7 separate regions of the Homo sapiens genome follow, and all the other regions are linked to region 2. The links are contacts of gene promoters, found by promoter capture Hi-C in blood cells and fetal thymus (Javierre and others, 2016). All regions are on one chromosome and are shown on one strand. Each heading gives the region's core, a stretch centred on a gene start or on the middle of the fragment in contact. The rest is flanking DNA. Distances are from core to core; before and after follow the strand shown. Region 1 holds the start of LOC101928044 (zinc finger CCHC domain-containing protein 9-like). Region 2 holds the start of AIPL1 (AIP like 1 HSP90 co-chaperone). Region 3 has its middle 19 kb from the start of NLRP1. Region 4 overlaps NLRP1 (NLR family pyrin domain containing 1). Region 5 overlaps NLRP1 (NLR family pyrin domain containing 1). Region 6 overlaps DERL2 (derlin 2). Region 7 overlaps DHX33 (DEAH-box helicase 33).

Region 1 (2,852 bases), core at 302-2,801, 920 kb before region 2:
TTCTGCTGCCTCAGCCTCCCGAGTAGCTGGGGTTACAGGCACCTGCCATCATGCCCAGCTAATTTTTGTATTTTTGTAGAGACAGAGTTTCACCATGTTGGCCAGGCTGGTCTTGAACTCTTAAACTCTTAACCTCAGGTGATCCGTCCGCCTTGACATCCCAAAGTGCTAGGATTACAGGCATGAGCCACTGCATCTGGCCAAAAAAATGAAAAAAAATTTTTTTTTTTAAGAGACGGGGTCTTGCTATGTTGCCCAGGCTGGTCTTGAACTCCTGGTCTCAAACTCCTGGTCTCAATAGATCTTCAGGCCTTCGCCTCTCAAAGTGCTGGGATTACAGACATGGGTGCGTATTTCGTATCTCCTTGCCACTAGAATATAAATTGCTTGAGAATAGATACTCTGGCCTCTGTTATCACTGGCACCTACAACAGCCTCAGGCTCAAAGAAGCTAAGATTTACTGTCTGCCTAGTGTTGTGTACCAGCTCGCCCAGAACAACTTCCCACTCATGAGCTCACCTAGTCAAACAACCGTTTGACGCAAGCTTTGCTATTCCCTTCTTACACATCTGAAAACCTGTTTCAAGATCACACATCTAATGGGTGGTAGAGCCAAGAATTTGATTCCCAGCTCACTGCCTGTCCCTCAGAATTCTAGCTGTTGCTATTAGAATCCAGATCCAGGCCGGGCACGGTGGCTCACACTTGTAATCCCAGCACTTTAGGAGGCCGAGGCGGGCGGATCACTTGATGCCAGGAGTTCGAGACCAGCCTGGCCAACATGGTGAAACCCCGTCTCTACTAAAAATACAAAAATTTATCCGGGTGTGGTGGTGGGCGCCTGTAATCCCAGCTACTCGGGAGGCTGAGGCAGGAGAATCGTTTGAACCCGGGAGGTGGAGGTTGCAGTGAGTGCAGTGAGCTGAGATTGCGCCACTGCACTCCAGCCTGGGCGACAGAGCGAGCCTCCGTCTAAAAAAAAAAAAGAGAATCTGGATCCAAAGCGGACATGCATGTGTGTCTCCCCCATCCCCACACACTTGTTTGTGTCTGGCCTTTCTCCTACTCCAAGACTGGCTCCACTTCGGGGCTCGCTGCCATGGAGACGACTCCAGATTTAGGAATACATTTCCTAGGCTTCCGGCAACTAACGTGAGGACTTGCTGGGATGAGGGACGGGGAGGTCTGCAGAAGGAGGCGGGGCATGCGGGGGTTGCGGGGCTTAGAGGGTTGGCGGAGCCCCTCCTCGCGTAGGTCCTTCCTTCTTTCCCTCCCTCCCTTTCTCTTTTCTTTTTCTTTCTCTTTCTCTTTCTTCTTTCTTTCTCTTTCCTTTCTCTCTTTCCTTCCTTCCTTCCTCTTTTTCTTCATTCCTTCCTCTTCCTCTTTCTCTTCCTTTTTCTTTCTCTCTCTTCTTTCTTCTTTCTCTCTGTTGAAAATTGTTTTTGACCACACCCAGATCATACTGATATTTACAGTATAGTCCTGGCTACAAGGGAGCCCAGCTGTAACTTGTGAAGTGGGCCTGGTTTAGAAAGTAACAATGAGGTGGTAACTAATGACAGTACTAGTTGTTATCAAAAATTAACACCTTTAGGTATTTTTGTTTTGGGTTTTTGTGGTTTTGGTGCATCCACAATGTCTTCATAGTCTGCACTTATTCCCTTTGCCCACAGACCAACTGTGGCCATTCGATCTGAATTCTCACTTTCAGGGCAATCTTTCTTTAAATGTTCCACAGAGCCATGAAGTTGGCAACCACTACCATCAGCATAGAGTCCTTTGGGATTATCAGGACAAGATCTAGACAGGTGCCCCATTTCTCCACAGACAAAACATTCTGCAAAAGGACATTCGCCAAGAGGCGGGTCTACTTTAGCCTTACACTTGGTTATTTCGTGATCTGTGGACCCACACTTGTAACATCTTCTAGTGCCCATATCTTGATTTTCAAGGGCGGCAGGGCAATCCGCAATTCCACGACCAGGTTTTCTACAATGGAAACACACCATTGCATTTTTCTTTGCCCCTTGTCTTTTAAATCTTCTTACTTCCCATTGACTGTCCTCTTGGAGGAAGGGTTGTGTGGAGAGTGGAGGTCTGCATGTGGTAAAGGAGATGGGTGGGTGGGGCGTGAAGGACCCGAAAGACAAGGCCAGTCTCATGGGTGTGTGACCTGTGCGGTCACACAGAGCCCTGAGCTCAGCAGGGCCTGGCGCTTGATTTCATGTTCTGTTGTCACCGTCTTGACATTCTTATCATTTTTGAACGAGGGGCCCTGTGTTTCCATTTTGCACTGGGTCCCACAACTGCTGGAGCTGGTCCTACAGGAGGGTGAAAATTAGCATATAATGAGCAGTGAGGACAACCAGGAGTCCCTTTCATTGCCATCTTGGCTTTGGTGGGCTTTGGCCAGCTTCTTTACCGCATCTTATCAGTGGAGTCTTTGTGACCTGCATCTTGTGAAGCCAGTCCTGCCCACCTCCTGTGTCACCCCCAGCTTAGAGATCTGCATACAGTAAAATTACTACTAGCTTTCTCCTGAGGCCCTGCAAGCTAAAGCTTATACCTTGTGATACAGGCGTGTCAGATTGCCACCACTTTCCTGCTTTATAACTAAAGATGCTTTTGAGTCTAATACCTGGATAGACTGTGTCCAGCATTAACCTTTTTTTCTTCTGTTCTCATAAAAATCTCTCTTATTAAAAATCTGTTTGGCTTTGTATTTCAGACAACAGAAGACTAGTTTTCCAGCCTATTCACTTAGATTCCAAATGGCATCTGATCTCTTATTTTTTTCTTTCTTATTTTTTTAAAGAGACAAAGTCTATGTTGCCCGGGCTAGTCTCAAAAG
Region 2 (2,809 bases), core at 1-2,500:
GCCCAGAAAAGACTAGTCCCAGGAGACAGGCGCGCAGGGCCTACTTACGATGGTGTCGCACCAGAACTCGGCCACCTCGTGCACCCGCATGGAGGTAAGCAGGATCTCCCAGACCTCGAGCTTGAACATGTTTCCGATGATGATGTGCATGGGCTGGCCCACCTGCCGACTGTCGTCAATGACTGTCCGCTCCTCATCACATTTCATGGTGCGGAAATGAAAGATCACCTAGTCACCGAGACGGTGCACTCTGCTCTAGACACACTGTTCAAGGCCCGGCAGAAGCCACCCCCTTGCCACCGACACCCAGGGCTGTCCCCAGGGTCAGCTCACTCAGTTCACCCCATCAGATGCCTCAGACCCCTGGAGCACCTCCACCCTGCCTGCACCCCCCAGGGAGGAGGGACCCACCCCTCCCTACAGACCCCATTCCACTCCCCACAGCCCTGTGCGTCCAGAAATCCTTCCTCAAGTAAGCCCGAGTTCTTTTTTTTTTTTTTTTTTCTGAGACAGAGTCTCACTCTGTTGCCCAGGTTGGAGTGCAGTGGTATGATCTCGGCTCACTGCAACCTCCACCTCCTGGGCTCAAGTGATTCTCCTGCCTCAGTCTCCTGAGTATCTGAACTGGGATTACAGGCGCCCAGCACATCTGGCTAATTTTTGTATTTTCAGTAGAGATGGGGTTTCACATGTTGGTCAGGCTGGTCTCGAACTCTTGACCTCATGATCTGCCCATCTTGGCCTCCCAAAGTGCTGGGATTACAGGCGGGAGCCGCCTCGCCTGGCCAAAGCCCGAATTCTGTAGCCACAGACGCACCCTTCAGTCCAGGGAAGCCTAACAGACATTTGGGGACAAATACCAAGACTCCTCGGACTCCCTTTCTTCTCACTCAACATTTAGGGCCCCAGAAAATTCCCAAAAGCCCTTCCCCTCAGCCCATGCTAAAGTTGAATCTGCAAAGTACCAAAAATGCCCCCTGAATGGGTAAACGCTGGGAGCTCCCCGGAGGCCCAGCGCTGGGGCTGCCTGGCTGTTTTTTTGGCACAGCTGAAAGCTGTTTACAGTGCCTTGGGGCACACCTGGAATGTTGAAAGCTGCTGTGGGGGACCCTGTCTGCTCCGGAGGGGCCCCACTCACTCGGGATCCGGTGATGAAGTTTGGGAGCTCGCCCGTGCCCCCGTGCAGAATGGTTTTCTTGACCCCTTCCACGTTCAGGAGCAGAGCGGCATCCATGGCTGCAGGAGAAAGGGAGGTGTCCAGCACAGGCGGAGATAATCTCACCTCCGGGGAAGACACTTAGGCGGCTGAGACTCTGGGATTTACCCAGCCAGGAGGAGTGGGGGGAAGGGCAGACGGTGGGGGCGGTGACCTAGGCGCCCCGGCTTCTCATCAGAGCCACTCGGGCCGGGCCTGTGGTCCACAGGCAGCCTCGCCTCCTATCCCATCCACCTTTGCTTCCAGTGATTCTGGGCCCCTGCCCAGGGTTGTGCTAGATTTGGCTTTTTGTTCCACCCCAAGAAGGAAAAAGGTCCGCTGAGCTTTCTTAAAGAAGACAGGGGACCAGGCGCGGTGACTCACGCCTGTAATCCCAGCACTTTGGGAGGCCGAGGCGGGCAGATCACAAGGTCAAGAGATCGAGACCATCCTGGCTAATATGGTGAAACCCCATCTCTACTAAAAATACAAAAATTAGCCGGGGGTGGTGGCGGGCGCCTGTAGTTCCAGCTACTCGGGAGGCTGAAGCAGGAGAATCGCTTGAACCCGGGAGGCGGAGGTTGCAGTGAGCCAAGATAGCGCCACTGCACTCCAGCCTGGCGATGTGGAGAGAGGCCTGGAGGCCACTGAAGGGGAAAAGGAGGGGAGGCATGGGCTGGGCCCAGACTCTAAGTCCCCGAGGACCCCAGGCCAGCCGGGGTGACAGCTGCCCTTTGCCATCCAGCCACCTTTCTGCTTTCCCTGTTCCCCCTCCCCTCCCCAGAATCTGCCTTCAGGAGGCCCTGCGATGGTGGCCCAAGGCAAGAGGGGACAGGTTTCTGGCTTGGGAGAGAAGGAAGACGGAGAACGAAAGGCGGGGTGGGTTTGGGTAAAGTTGAGGCGCCCTCCGCAGCCCCGCTCCTGCCTCCCCTGCAAGGTCTGGCTGGGGGAAGGGTGGGTATCCCCTCCCCTCCCCTCCCCTCCCCTCCCCTTTGGAGGCCCTTAGCCCTGTGCCCTGGGAACCAGGCAGAGTTTATTGAGGGCATCAGGGACGCCCAGAAGGGCTGGGAAACATAAATGCGAAGACCTGGTGTTTGGCACCACCGTGTGGCCAGTTCAAGCTCCTACACCTCCGCACCCTGAGGGCACTGGACTCAGCTCCACGAAACCATTCTCTTCCTGACACCAGGCTCACCGGTTGCAGAGGGAAGGGGTGCAGGACTCTGCTACAGGGAGAGATAAAAACACGGGACTAAGGAGGCTGAAGTAGGTGGATCACCTGAGGTCAGGAGTTTTGTATTTTTAGTAGTCTGTACTAAAAATACAAAAATTACCCAGGCATGGTGGTGCGCACCTGTAATCCCAGCTACTCAGGAGGCTGAGGCAGGAGCCTCGCTTGAACCCGGGAGGCGGAGGTTGCAGTGAGCTGAGATCGTGCCACTGCACTCCAGCCTGAGCAACACAGCGAGACTCTGTCTCAAAAAAACAAAACAAAACAAAAAATGCTAGACTAGGCTGGGTGCAGTGGCTCATGGCTGTAATCCTAGGACTTTGGGAGCCAAGGCAGGTGGATCACCTCAGATCAGGAGTTAGAGACCAGCCTGGCCAACATGA
Region 3 (2,739 bases), core at 167-2,666, 830 kb before region 2:
ACATGGGGCTTCTTAGCATCTGGTACCTGCCCACATTTCCAATCCCCATATGCCCCAAGCTGCAGCCTCACCCAGGCACTCAGATTCCTGAAACATCACGTTTGCACACACTGTTTTCTCTCCTTGGATGTTCCTCTCTTCTTAGCCACCCTGCATACTCCTATGCATCTGCCAAGAGCTAGCCTAAATGTCCCCACCTCTTTTTTTTTTTTTCGGAAATATTTCCTGCCTTCTCTTGTCAGGGTTACTAGCTGCCTTCTCTGTTAAGTCTGTCTAGATACAAAATACTTCAAGAGCATAGTTAGTTATGTCTACCTATCTGTCACTAGAACAGTGTCAAGCACATAGTCAAAATTTGGGTTGTCGAATGAGGGGATCATTTGATGTCAGTGAGGAGACAACCCTTCTTGGTCAGCACCACGTGTCTGGCATGCGATGATAATTTAATTTCAAGCACAATGTGTCTAATACTTCTGTGAGTATTATCATCACAGAATAATACTTGATCTTATGATCAAGATGCTGAGGAAGATGCTTTACTGACTGCAGGTAATGCAAACCTGGAAGTGATAATAAACACACTGAATGGCTATTCGGTATTTTAAAAAATGTGGATAGTTTGGCACACTTGACTGAAATTAACAAGATGCCACTGAATATGGATACAGTGGAGGTGTTACCAATATAAAGGTCTATGAATCAATGGCAGTTGGTGGCTGGTGTGAGGGAGAAGATTCACAGGTGACCAGGGTATTAAATAGTCCTCCACATATGCCACGGTCTTTCATACCCATTGGTGAGGGGAAGCTTAGGGTTTTGTCTGGGAAAAAGCAGGAATAGGTAGAGTTTGAGTCACTGAATCCTCTGTGTTTGTAATAATGCCTACCACTTAGTAGGTTCACAATAAATATTTGTTGAATTATGAATGAATACTCTAGTCACTTTGCATTTACTTTCTGCTTGCAGTATCCTATGCCTCCAAATTTTTTTTTTGAGACCCTCTGTTGCCCAGGCTGCAGTGCAGTGGCACGATCTCAGCTCACTGCAACCTCCACCTCCTGGGTTCAAGTGATTCTCCTGCCTCAGCCTCCTGACTGGGATTACTGGCACCCGCCACCACACCTGGCTAATTTTTGTATTTTTTAGTAGAGACGGGGTTTCACCATATTGGCCAGGCTGGTCTTGAACTCCTTACCTCCGGTGATCTGCCTGCCTTGGCCTCCCAGAAGTGCTGGAATTATAGGCGTGAGCCACTGTGTCCAGCCCAAATTCTTACTAGTTCTTCAAAATTGAACTCAGAAGTTAACCAACTGTAGGGCACTTTCTCTAGTGGCTACTTCCCCACTGGGCTATTATAATACTCTCATTTAAAACATAGGACTTAATACACTGTGTGAATGCTATTTGTTTATAGCATTCACACAGTATAATATGTGTGATATATAGTATGGATCCCCCATAAAACTGAGAGCTTGGCAAAAGCAGGGGCTGGATTTGATCTCTAATCAACCAGTGAACTCCATATCATTGGTGCTCAATCAATGTTTGTGGACTGAATGACTGAGAAGCTCTGGCACATAATTTCCCTCAGAGCTCAGTGGTCTGAGAATTAGAGACAGGTCAAAGGACAAGGTCTTTGTCTATAGAGGACAAGACTGTAGGGCATGGGTTCAAGGGATCTCAGGGTGTCACTAAGAGCAGCACTTGGTCCAGAATTTGTAGGGAGATGAGTCTCACTCTATCGCCCACGCTGGAGTACAGTTGTGCGATCTCAGCTCACTGCAACCTCCTCCTCCCAGGTTCAAGTGATTCTCCCGCCTCAGCCTCCAGAGTAGCTGGGACTACAGGTGCACGCCACCATGCCTGGCTAATTTTTGTATTTTTAGTAGAGATGGGGTTTCACTATGTTGGCCAGGTTGGTCTCAAATTCCTGACCTCAGGTGATCCACCCGCCTTGGCCTCCCGAAGTGCTGGGATTATAGGCGTGAGCCACCATGCCTGGCCGAAAATAGGCAGGTTTGATTTCTAAGCTTCAATCATCCTTCAAGAGCTTTAAGAGCTTCTGACTCTAGATCTGTGCATTGAGTATGACATCACAGCTCTGTCTGAGACATTGGAGGTGGAAGAGTTCAGAGTTATGGCAGGGTCCCTGGCCTGGGGGCAGTGATATAGAGGAGAATGTTGCTGGAGTTAAGGAGGCTGGAGAACTGTAAGAGCAGGATGTCAAGAGTGATATCATCTTGGATGCTGAGTTCATCAAGGATGATATCAAGGGATGGAGTGTAGAGCACATTTTAAAGATCACTTCAGACTGAAAATTACAGAATGGTCCAACCTCAAAAACACTTAAGCAAGAGAAGGATAATTTGTTGGCTTCGAGTATCCTAGGAAGGGTAGATTAGTCAAGCTATGGGACAGTCAGGGAAGCAACTGGGTCTCAAGAACTATTGGAACCAGGGATTTTAACGCCAACAGGTCTTTCACTGTATGTGTGTCTCTGTCCTTTTCTCTGTCCATATCTTGCTTCTTGGACATGTTTGTTTCATTTGCCGTTTCCATAATGAATCACTTTCTTCATGTGGCAGGACACAATGCAGTTCTGAGGTTTACTTCTTATAGCTTTAATCACCAAAGAGACTGACCTTCTGGGACACACATTTTAAAAATTCCCAGGGAAGAGATCCATTATCTCAGAGGGAGTGAGGTGCTCATTCCTTGACTAGGGCCCTCAATTTGTCA
Region 4 (2,700 bases), core at 122-2,621, 870 kb before region 2:
CATTCTCCTGCCTCAGCCTCCCGAGTAGCTGGGACTACAGGCGCCCGCCACCGCGCCCGGCTAATTTTTTGTATTTTTAGTAGAGACGGGGTTTCACCTTGTTAGCCAGGATGGTCTCGATCTCCTGACCTCATGATCCACCCGCCTCGGCCTCCCAAAGTGCTGGGATTACAGGCGTGAGCCACCGCGCCCGGCCCCATGTGGTTTTTATACTTGCCATGAAACTGTTCTTTGGGATATTATTTTGTTCAGGTTCCCCACTTGGACAGCAGAGGGGGTGACTCTGCCCATCCCTGCCACTGGTAGCCAGGCGGGCAATGTCTGCTAGCAGTCTGCTTCTGTCTGAACTCAGCCAGCAGAGGCAAACTCCCGGTTCCCCGAGAAACACTCTGAAGGCAGGGTGGGTGACTCCACCCACCACCGCCTCTCCTAGCCATGCAGGCCATGTCTGCTAGAGCTTCCAGCGCAGTGGTCCTAATTCTGTCTGAATCCGGCTGAGGGGTGCAGCCTCCTGTTACTGCCCAGGGAAACACCCAGATGGCAGGGTGGGTGACTCCAACCACCTCTGCCTGTGGTAGCCAGATGGGCCACACCTGCTAGAGCTTCCAGCCCAGCAGTCCCGCTACTCTGTGGGTGGGTGCCATCCCCTGTTCCTCTGGGAAGCACCCAGACAGCTGATTACGTGACCCCACCCACTTCTGCAGATCCTAGCTGAGCAGGACTTGCTGGTTTGGACAATGCCCAAGCAGGGAAGAGCCCTCATTCTCTTATCACTGACAGAGGTGAGATGTCCGAGTTTGTAGGCTGGTGGAGGAGTGAGGTGGAGGAGGTATGCCTCTCTCTGCAGGGCGGACCCAGCAAGGATACGGCCTGTCTGCCAACCACGGCCCCTGCCTGAAGGAACCCCGTTTACCAGAACACCCAACAAAAGAAATGCAGGTGTGGAGCCAGTAATCAGAAGGGTCTTGTCTAAGGCCCAGGAGTGGACTAAGTGAGAAGGTCACCCCCCTGTCCCCAACACACACAGAACACTACTGCCAACTGTACTGAAACATGAAGAACCACGCAGCAGAGTAAGAGTGTATCTCCTGGTGATCACTCTTAAGCACTGCCTACTGGATGGCGGCCCCAAAATACAACACCAAAATGTTTTGCAGTATTCAGTGCCATGAAAACTAAGGCAAAGGCTCCCACCAGTGCCCTGCCCCAGCCAACACACACGCACCCTGCCATGCCACTGTGGCTGGTGCCATGTGTGAGTGAGCACAGATCCTGCTGGCACTGCCACAAGGAAGCACTTTGGCCTGCACCCCCACTGGACTGTTGAGGCCAGCGGACTGGGAACACCTTGGCCCCTCTAATGCAGCAGGTTCTGAACCCCAGGAGGCCAGAGGAAAAGGCTGGGGACCCAGTACCAGCCTTCTAGAGTTAGAGCAGGCAGCTCAGGAGTGCTGAGCTGAGCCTTGGCCACCTGAAATCTTCCAGAATCGAAGCCAGTTGACTGAACCCACCTTATACGACAATCAAACCCCCAAGGGCTTCAAACAAGATAAAAACAAAACAAAAAAAACCCCATCCAAAGGAAGACAACTTCAAAGATTAAAGGAACATCAGCCCACACACACGAGAAAGAACCAGCTCAAGAGCTCTGGTAACTCAAAAAGCCACAGTGTCTTCCTATCTCCAGATGTGTGCACTAGTGCCTCAGCAATGGTATTTTAACAGGCTGAAATGGCTGAAATGACAGACATAGAATTCAGAATATGAGTAGGAATGAAGATCATTGAGATTCAGGAGAAAGTCAAAATCCAGTCCAAGCAATCTAAGGAATATGATAAAATGATACAGGAGCTGAAAGACGAAATGGTCATTTTAGGAAAGAACCAAACTGATCTGATAGAGCTGGAAATCTCACTACAAGAATTTCATAATACAATAGCAAGTATTAACAACAGGATAGACCAAGCTGAGGAAAGAATCTCAGAGCCTGAAGACTGGTTCTCCAAATTAACTCAGTCAGACAAAAATAAAAAAGAATGAAAACAAATGAACAACACCTCTGAGGAATATGGGATTTTGGAAAGAGACCAAATCTATGACTCGCTGGCATCCCTGAAAGAGCATGAGAAAGCCAGCAACTTGGAAAACGTATTTGAAGATATTGTCCACAAAAGTTTCCCCAACCTCCCTAGAGAAGCCAACATTTAAATTCAGGAAATGCAAAGAATCCTTGTGAGATACTATACAAGACAATCATCCCTAAAACACATAGTTCTCAGATTCCCCAAGTCCTCAGATTCTCCAAGGCCAACATGAAAGAAAAAACAATAAAGGCAGCTAGACACAGAAGGGGCAGGTCACCTAAAAAGGGAACCTCATCAGGCTAACAGTGAACTTTTCAGCAGAAGCCCTGCAAGGCAGAAGAGATTGGGGGCCTATATTCAGCATCCTTAAAGAAAAGAAATTCCAGCCAATAATTTCTTTTCTTTTTTAAAATTTTAAAATTATTTTTTAAAAATTTTGTGGATATGTAGTAGGTGTATGTATTTATGGGGATCCATGAGATGGTTTGATACAAGTAAGCACTGTAAAATAAGCACATCATGGAGAATGGGGTATGCAGCTCCTCAAACATTTAACCTTTGAGTTACAAACAATCCAACTATATTCTTTGTTATTAAAAAGTATACAATTAATTTA
Region 5 (2,716 bases), core at 42-2,541, 910 kb before region 2:
CTAGCTATAGTGGGAGAAAACTCACCATGGAAAGTTAATGACTCATCACCCGTTCAGCGACGACAGTGATGAAGCACCAGTGCCCAAGTCCTAAATCAGACCCTGTGTCAGGCAGTGAGGTCATCGTTTCCAGGGCAATGAACAGCTGCAGCCCAGACAGCAGGCAGCAAGCATTTCTGGAAGGGGCCCTGCCCGGCCCCAGGGATTGGTTTCCTGGCTGGTCACAGCTAGCTAAAAGCAGCCTCTGTGCATTTTGCCTCTTGTTCTGTGGCAGGGGTGTCCAATCTTTTGGCTTCCCTGGGTCACATTGGAAGAAGAAGAATTGTCTTGGGCCACACATGTAAAATATACTAACACTAATGATAGCTGGTGAGCTTTAAAAAATTCGCAAGAAAGTCTCATAATGTTTTAAGAAAGTTTACGAATTCACGTTGGGCTTCATCGAAAGCCATCCTGGGCCGCATGTGGCCCACAGGCCGCAGGTTGTACAAGCTTGTGTACGGAGTCCAAAGGGAGTAAATCCTATCTGGCCACAAGGTGAGGCTCAGAATTTGGTCTAGAGAAGGCTAGTGGGACATGGGCTTGGGCAGGACTGGGGAGGGGTAGGGGTGTAGCTCTTAGCCTGGGATAAACAGGACTTGGGATAGAATCCCAACTCTGGAAGAGGGTCTTCACCTCTCTCGGCTTCAGTTTCCTCACTGGTACACCAAGGGAAAACTGTAGTGCCTAATTTCCCGGTTCATTATGAAAAAAGAGATGATATTAATATATACGGAACTACCTTGCATGGTTCCAGGCACAGGATGCTCAGTTATTGTTCACAGTTCTTATTGGCCAAGTTCCAGTGCCACAAAGGACAGTGCCACAAGCACAGTGAATTCATTCCTATTCTGATTTGGCTGTCAGCCTGGCAGGCTTCAGCTAGATGCCTGTGCACTCGGAGGGTCACCCAATTCCTTGGACAAATCCCGTCTCCCAGGCCCACTTGATGCACGCAGGAGACTGAGCAGGGCATGGCCTGGGAGTCCTCACAATGGGGAGGGCCAGCTCATCCACCTCTGAGAGTGGGGAATGAGGGGGCGCTGGAGCAGGACCTGAAGGCAGACTTTGTCCCCTCGGGCCCTGGTGGTACATTCTGGCTCCAGACCTTAGCTGCATGAGGTTTCTCCTGGAATACCCTGGTTAGAGCAGGGAGTGGTGGTGCAGCCCTGAGCATCCCAGGTTGGGGCAAGCCAAGTTCTTTTGCTGCTGGTCATGGGCAGAGCTACGACAGAGCTGAGCCCACTGACTCTATTAGCCAGGCCCCTCTCTTCTTGATAGAGTACCTGGGGATCCCTGGCCACGGTCTCACTTGTGGAAGAGGCAGGCTGGTTGTGGTAGTGGCTGTGTTCATTACTCTATAGATTGCCCGGTGGGAACAAGTAACTTGTCCCAGCTTCTTGTTTCAGCCATCAGTTTCCTCTCCTCAATCTCTTCCTTTCTAAATGGACCTCTACAATTCCAGAGCTGTCTTGCACCTCTTCCCTCTATTCTGTTTTAGTCTGGGACCTTCCCTAGGGAATGCCCATATGACCCTGACTGTTCAACCAGGTGCCCCAGGGATCCTGAGGCCCCCGGGACTCTATTTCCCTGCCCCATGCTCTCCTCCTGGTGTGCAGCTTGAATTGTTTACTGAACTTTTGTGGCCTCAACAAACAAGACTTTCCTGGTTCTGGGTACTGAGCAGTTCCCTGCTTTTTATTTTTCTCATTTGATTTTTCTCTTTCTACTAGCTTCTAAATAATTTTTCTTATATATATGCCTTGATTACCTTAATATATGCATACTGTAAAGTTAATACCTTTATTTTGAGGTGATACTAAAAATACATTGAACTACTGGGATGATACTACAACATATCAACTAACAAATGAGAAATTAAAAATAAATTCTCATTTACCTCTATTCCTGGGAAATAAAGAAATTAAGACAAGAAAAAATATTAAAAACCCATTTAATATCTAGCTAAACTGTACAAATCATAAAAGTGCTTATAACTGATGTAAGCTATAACATAAATTGTTTATCAAATCATTTTATCAGCAATTAAATGAAGCTTCTATTGGAGTCATGATTTGACATGGGGACACATCAGATTCTTCTAACTTGCTCACTAAATTGACAGACATTGGCTGGGCACAGTGGCTCACACCTATAACCCTTTCTTTCTGGCTGATGTCAAGGCTTTCCCTCATACTTTCTTATTCTGTAGTTTCACATTAATGAGACTAATCTTGATTTTTTCTCTCCCTTCTCTCTCTCTTTCCTGCATTGCAGTTTTGGGGATTCTCATTCTGAGAAGTCTCATATGTCTCAATACTTCCAGAAATTTGTTTGCAATTGTCTTGTTGAATATTCTATTTTTTTCCCTTCTATCTTATCTTTCTGGAATTCCATTTAGATATATATTAGGACTTATCATGGTATCCTACAAGTTACTTGATTGTTTATTCTTTTTTTTTTTTTTTTGAGACAGAGTCTCGCTCTGTGGCCCAGGCTGGAGTGCAGTGGTGCGATCTTGGCTCACTGCAAGCTCCACCTCCTGGGTTCACGCCATTCTCCTGCCTCAGCCTTCCGAGTAGCTGGGACTACAGGCGCCTGCCGCCACGCCCGGCTAATTTTTGTATTTTTAGTAGAGACGGGGTTTCACTGTGTTAGCCAGGATGGTCGCAATCTC
Region 6 (2,942 bases), core at 218-2,717, 950 kb before region 2:
TCTATGGCTGGTCAGTGGGACAGCTACACCTGGTTTCCAGTCCAAAGCTATTTCCACTCTGCTTCACTGCTTATCTCAACCACCTGCTTGGCAGGCCACAAAGTCCACCATCAGAAACTTTCATCAGTTTTGCCCATTTTGCTACCTTACTTCACTAAACGTGGACAGCAGCTTTCATAAAACCAGCAGGCTCCTACCAGAATAGAAGTTCTAGTGGTCATCTCTAACAATTACCAGGTTACTCCCAAGATATCTTGAGCCTGTTGACGTTGGTCTTGCCACAACCCTGGCACTGTCTGCTCCTACCCAGTCCAAGTGCTCTTCAACTGTAGCCAGAATGCTCAATCTGCAAATGGTTACTGACCTGAGCTATGTGTACTAGGAGCTAGGGGAGCCAAAGAAAACACAGATCATGCCCCTGTCCTGGTTTGCCTGTAAGAGTATGTAACCTGGTGTTAAATACTCACAAAATAGATGGTGTTTTCAGAATTCTTATTCCACCAGGTTGATTGGGAAATACATCTTCCAAGAAAAAATATATGTGTCCAACTGCAATACCTAGAGTCAAGCAGAAATAAAGGATGAGGGAGAGAATTAAAATTTAGATTGCAGGTAGACCTACCAACACAAATTGCCTATATTTAGGATGAATGTCAACATAATTATTAAAAATTAATGAACTAATATTGTGGTATTTTACAATAGGTAATACGTGAAGGCCAAACAGAATAAACATGAAAAATAGTAACAAAATACTTTTACAGGTAAAATAATTTAAAAAATAGTGAGAAGAGCCTTACCCAAAAGGTCCACAATGATTGAGTTCCCCAACAACAAGGAAAATCCCATGAGCACCCAGGGCAGAAAGGGGGCCTGGAAGTTGAGAAGGCCGAAGAAGTTCATGCGGACATAGGGGTTCCTTCGGCTCCACACATAGACGAGCATTATTGTAAAGGCCTGGCCCAAGAAAACTAAGCTCACAAACAGACCAAAAAGCTAGCAGATGGCATTAAGGAAAATATCAACATTAAAAGTTTAATAGGAAAGACTGAGCAGGAGAACTAAAGATTGTGTTCTAACAGAAGTTTGAATTGGAAAAGTCAAGTTGTTACATCTTTAGAATAGAAGGAGAAACACCCAGAAAATAATTACCCAGAGCAATCAGGCAAAAATCTGCTTAGGCTAAATTATCGAGATTTACAGCTACTTCAAACAAATACTCTGCTTTCGTGAAGTTCTTGCCTCTTTGGAAAATGTGTTAATTCTTCAGTCAATAATTATATTAAAGCTTGCTCACGATTAGCACCTTTACAGAGATGAATAAAGCTAGCTGGAACAAAACCATCTTGTCAGACCGTACCATATCTAAGTCTATTGTATAGATGAAAATTCTTTTTCTGAAAAAATAATTTATTGGTTTTGGTAGCCACCAAGTAAATGTCTTACCAACTTAGTTTAAAAGTGAAGTACGCCAAGCAGTAATGATATAACTGAGTTGCTTAACAGTAACCCACCTGGGTTAAAAGTTCCTTTGACTTGCTCATCCTGTCCGACTGCTAGGTTTGGAAACTTGTCACAGAAAATGTGCTGTAAAATAAATGATAGTGCCCTGAAGCTAAGATCTAGAGAACTGTGGGAGACAGATGACAAGCTTTAGGAAGAGCCAGGGTGTTCTTCAACATTTTCCCGTGTTGTTTGTTGAAGGATACGGTCATTAAGAATCCACCAAAAAGGAACATAAATACAAAGTCTGCTGTCCGACCTCGGAAAGAGCCTTCTTCTAGCATTCGACAGTAACGATATCTTAAGTTCCAAGTTAAGAAAATATTAAGCACACGAATATGAACAAAGTAAAAATTTAATGTTATCTTGTAAGTACACTTGGATTCCATATTATTTGTAATTAGTCAAGTCTTCATTTGTATAAGAATGTTTGAGTGGTAATGTGATTACTTTTTTACCAAGCATTTGAGAAAAGGTCAAGACCAGCATCATTTTTTACAAACTGTCCCTGGCTGGGAACTAATCCAGATGACACACAGACATGCTTTCAGTCCCCTATTCTTTTTTTTTTTTCTTTTGAGACAGAGTCTCGCTCTGTCACCTAGGATGGAGTGCAATGGTGCCATATCGGCTCACTGCAAGCTCCGCCTCTCAGATTCAAGCGATTCTCCTGCCTCATTCTCCTGAGTAGCTGGGATTACAGTTGTGTGCCACCATGCCAGGCTATTTTTTGTATTTTTAGTAGAGAGCAGGTTTCACCATGTTGGCCAGGCTGGTCTCAAACTCCTGACCTCGTGATCCACTGCCTTGGCCTCCCCAAGTGCTGGGATTACAGGTGTGAGCCACCACACCCGGCCCTCCAGTCCCCTATTAAACCTTTAAAAATTTGTATTGTCTTTCCTGTGCTCAGCCACACCTTAATATGCACCATCTTTGCTTTCCCACATCCTAACTTGGAAGAAATCCGCAGCAAGAAGCCTTGTGTGCTCAACTACTTTTCCAGCCTGGCAGGTTGAGCACCTCAGTCAATAAAGATGAATTACGATGAGAAAAAACTTTAATGGAAACTTATCAGAATGATATCCTACATAGGATATAAAATGGATTCCTGCCATCCTCAGGAAGGAATGCAGCTGCAGATGAGTTGAACTGTAACTCCCTCTTAATACAGAGGGCAGGGGTGGAAGAGGAATGCCCTGCTCTGTGGCCCCAATTACCATTGGATCAGAGCTGGGGTTTTCCTTTCAACAAACCGGAACTTGACAAGCCCAGCAGACACAACCACTGTCTTTCAGCCAGTAGTTCCAGCAACCAGGACCCAAGGAGATCTCAGGTTCCCACTCCTCATGAACCCATTCCAAAACTTATGCCCAAATTCTGCTGAATTACCATTGCATTCAGGTTGTTTTACGGCTTCGAACCTGTTGGTTACTGTGGAG
Region 7 (2,949 bases), core at 188-2,687, 980 kb before region 2:
TATCAACTGAAGGATGGATAAATGCATTTTGGTTTATTCACAGAATGGAATAGCACTTAGTGTGAAAAAGCATCAGCACAAATATACTATACGGAACAAGCTGAATGAAAACCGCTTACTCAAGAATAACTAACATAAACTTACAAACAACAGGTGGTTTAGGGATACATACGCATATAGTAAAACAGTGAAGAAAAGCAAGGCAATTACAAACAAAATATGGAAGAGTGGGTACCCCAAAAGAGTGGAAGGAGGCGAGGGCAAGTGGGTGGGGGGGACTCCTGGGGGCTTCAATTGGGTACACAGGTGTTAGATTTTAACCATTCCTTACACCTTATGTATCTTCTTCATTTGTATGTAAGAATTTAGCAATGAAAGAAAAAAAATCAAGCACAGAACAATACTCAATGTGTGTTGCTATTTGTGTTTTAAAACATACTACAGGCTGGGCGTGGTGGCTCACGCCTGTAATCCCAGCACTTTGGGAGACCGAGGTGGGCGGACCACCTAGGTCAGGAGTTCAAGACCAGCCTGGTCAACATAGTGAAACTCCATCTATACTAAAAAATACAAAAATTAGCCGGGCATGGTGGTGCACACCTGTAGTCCTAGCTACTCGGGAGGCTGAGGCAGGAGAATCACCTGAACCCGGCAGGTGGAGGTTGCAGTGAGCTGGGATCGCACCACTGCACTCCAGCCTGGGCAACAGAGTGAGACCCTGTCTCAAAACAAAAACAAAAACAAAAACATACTACAGCAGGGGCTTGGTGGCTCACACCTGTAGTCCCAGCTACTTGGGAAGCTGATGTGGGAGAATCACCTGAGCCCGGGAGGTTGAGGCTGCAGTGTGCTGAGAATGTGCCACTGCACTCCAGCCTGGACAACCAGAGTGAGACCCTGTCTCAAAAATAAATAAATAAATACATAAATAAAATCAAACACACTACATATACTCATATATGCATACATTTGCTCTAGAAGTCTACTAGAAAATGGTTCCAGTGGTTGTTCTAGGGGAAGGAAACTGTGAACCTGAGGATCAGGGCAGGACCCTTGTATACCCATCAACTGGTGACTTTGTGTTTTCTTTCCTTCTTTTTTAAACCAATTGCATTTCTTAAGAAAAGGGGGGGCAATAAAAAGAAAAGGAAAATGGTGCGTTGATGAGAGGCCAGGTGCCAAAGCCAATATCATAAATATTTCCAATTATTTTCTTCTTCTGTAGAGAAATTACTAATGAACAGGAGAGATGGATCAAATTCCAGTTAAAGGCAAAGAAATGTGATCTTTGCAGTCCCTGTGCTGATAAAAGTACAATTTCATTACATTTCTGTAGTATCCCAAGGACTCGCATGATGACCTTCACTGGTTCCAGAGGTCAAGGAACTTTATTGATGGTGCTGATAGTACAGAATCTATCGTTTCATAGCTAGGAACACTGGCGCATGCCTGTGGTCCCAGCTACTTGGGAGGCTGAGGCGGGGGGATCGCTGGAGCCCAGGAGTTGGAGGCTGTGATGGAGCCTGTGAATAGTCACTGCACCTCCACCTGGGCCACACAGTGAGACCCTGTCTCTTTAAAAGTCAATCAATGTATCTATCTATCATTTCATGATTTTCAGATGCTTCTCTAATAACTAATGTTGTCATCCACAAAATTAAATAAACAAAAGGAGATGACCAATATACTTTATTTTTTTGGAAGTGTCCATTTGTTGTTGTTTGTCTCCTCACCCACCTTCTGCAAAACTGTGGATTTCACTTACCTGGAGATGGCTTCGACATGAAGTCAAAGGTGAGCACATTTGGGACTTTCATTGCTAGAAGCTGAAGCATCACACTGGCCAGGTTACACCTGTGAAGAGCATGAGACCAGGGTCATGACCTGATCCCTCTGCCATTGAGTCAGAACCCCTCATGGTGGAGTGTGAGTAAAAACTGCAGCTCTGGGCAAGCAGGAGAGACATGGTGACAAACAGCAGCAGTGCAGGAGCAACTGGTGCCTACCTCTGGATCTCTGGCACGGTCATCTTATCAAACTTCTCAAACTCGTCCTCCGTGTAGAGCCGGTAGCAGATGCCACTGTCCTCTCTGCCAGCCCTCCCTGTGCGCTGCCAAGCCTGCGTCTTCGATACCCGCTGCACTGCTAACACCTCAAGACCACTGTCTGGATGGAGAGTGAGCCCCATTAGTGCTTCATCACATGAACAAACTCTTTCTACAGTGTCGATAAAAAGAAGCACACCAGTGGTTCTTTCAGCAACACGGGGGTCCAGAAAGCCTCAAGGCTAGCACAATGGACAGCACAAAACCAGACTGCTCCGCAGCGGTTTGGCCCTAGTGAAACAAGGCTTTGCCATAAGCCCACTGTGAAATCTGTTACAAAAACATCAGAAAAACCTCACGCATGCAGCAAGGGGCGAGAAGAGTAGTTTCCGAGGTCTTGCCTTAGATGGTAGGATGGCCAACCCCTCCAGTTTGCTTGGGACAGAGGGTTTCCTGGGATGTCGGATTTTGGGTGCTAAAACTGGGAGTTTCAGCAAACTAGGATGGGGGTCATACTATCAATCAATGACTACGAAATTAAATGCCTCAAATCACTTGTGTGCTTTATCCTCCCTCCCAGTTCTGCTGTAAGACAGAAATAATGTGATGTCTGTTTTCTAGCAGTAAATGAGGTTCATTTTCTTGATAAAGGTGTATCATTAGCCTGGCACTGGAGACCCAAGCTCTTTCACCTACGTCATCACAAAAAGATACACCTGTGGAAGCCAGGACCCTCAAATGTTTACTAGAGCATTTCAGTTCAATAATTGGGAGCAATAATTTCAGTGGTCTCAAATCCTCTGTGGAATAAAGCAAAGTATAAAACAGACATGAGTCAAGATGACCTTAAGTTAGCTTCTCACTGCACCTTCTTAGGAGAAGCCAGTGCTCCTTCCATGCCTCA

The links. Contacts are between HindIII fragments. The CHiCAGO score rates a contact against its expected background, and 5 or more counts as called.
Region 1: a fragment that was not itself captured here is called in contact with the fragment with the promoter of AIPL1 in region 2 in 1 of 17 cell types (M1 macrophages); the score reaches 5.2 in M1 macrophages.
Region 3: a fragment that was not itself captured here is called in contact with the fragment with the promoter of AIPL1 in region 2 in 17 of 17 cell types (total CD8 T cells, naive CD4 T cells, naive CD8 T cells and 14 more); the score reaches 19.3 in total CD8 T cells.
Region 4: a fragment that was not itself captured here is called in contact with the fragment with the promoter of AIPL1 in region 2 in 12 of 17 cell types (total CD8 T cells, activated CD4 T cells, naive B cells and 9 more); the score reaches 11.2 in total CD8 T cells.
Region 5: a fragment that was not itself captured here is called in contact with the fragment with the promoter of AIPL1 in region 2 in 12 of 17 cell types (M1 macrophages, M2 macrophages, total CD8 T cells and 9 more); the score reaches 12.4 in M1 macrophages.
Region 6: a fragment that was not itself captured here is called in contact with the fragment with the promoter of AIPL1 in region 2 in 1 of 17 cell types (M0 macrophages); the score reaches 6.3 in M0 macrophages.
Region 7: a contact is called between a fragment that was not itself captured here and the fragment with the promoter of AIPL1 in region 2, in 1 of 17 cell types (M1 macrophages). The highest score is 5.9, in M1 macrophages.

What each region holds. Positions count from the first base shown.
Region 1 is chr17:5,510,465-5,513,316 of GRCh38, forward strand. It overlaps LOC101928044 (zinc finger CCHC domain-containing protein 9-like), which reads right to left and starts at 2,262. Exons shown (of 1, transcript XM_047437231.1): 1 at 1,488-2,262. The coding sequence starts at 2,163. The coding sequence ends at 1,576. It also overlaps a transcript of NLRP1 not described here. The HindIII fragment of the contact is 2,014 bases long and covers 545-2,558 here.
Region 2 is chr17:6,433,871-6,436,679 of GRCh38, forward strand. It overlaps AIPL1 (AIP like 1 HSP90 co-chaperone), which reads right to left and starts at 1,251. Exons shown (of 6, transcript NM_014336.5): 1 at 1,139-1,251; 2 at 49-228. The coding sequence starts at 1,234. The HindIII fragment of the contact is 8,305 bases long and covers 1-2,809 here.
Region 3 is chr17:5,601,865-5,604,603 of GRCh38, forward strand. No RefSeq gene overlaps it. Among named protein-coding and RNA genes, the nearest start is that of NLRP1, 19 kb to the left of the region's middle. The HindIII fragment of the contact is 1,223 bases long and covers 806-2,028 here.
Region 4 is chr17:5,561,547-5,564,246 of GRCh38, forward strand. The region is part of intron 3 of NLRP1 (NLR family pyrin domain containing 1); the gene reads right to left. Among named protein-coding and RNA genes, the nearest start is that of NLRP1, 22 kb to the right of the region's middle. RefSeq lists an enhancer at 53-554. The HindIII fragment of the contact is 5,112 bases long and covers 1-2,700 here.
Region 5 is chr17:5,526,878-5,529,593 of GRCh38, forward strand. The region is part of intron 12 of NLRP1 (NLR family pyrin domain containing 1); the gene reads right to left. All of the region lies in intron 1 of LOC124903902 (a long non-coding RNA gene), which reads left to right. Among named protein-coding and RNA genes, the nearest start is that of MIS12, 42 kb to the left of the region's middle. The HindIII fragment of the contact is 1,603 bases long and covers 491-2,093 here.
Region 6 is chr17:5,479,587-5,482,528 of GRCh38, forward strand. It overlaps DERL2 (derlin 2), which reads right to left. Exons shown (of 7, transcript NM_016041.5): 4 at 1,710-1,803; 5 at 801-996; 6 at 468-558. Among named protein-coding and RNA genes, the nearest start is that of DERL2, 5.1 kb to the right of the region's middle. The HindIII fragment of the contact is 363 bases long and covers 1,287-1,649 here.
Region 7 is chr17:5,451,815-5,454,763 of GRCh38, forward strand. It overlaps DHX33 (DEAH-box helicase 33), which reads right to left. Exons shown (of 12, transcript NM_020162.4): 7 at 2,007-2,166; 8 at 1,766-1,854. Among named protein-coding and RNA genes, the nearest start is that of C1QBP, 14 kb to the left of the region's middle. The HindIII fragment of the contact is 6,981 bases long and covers 1-2,949 here.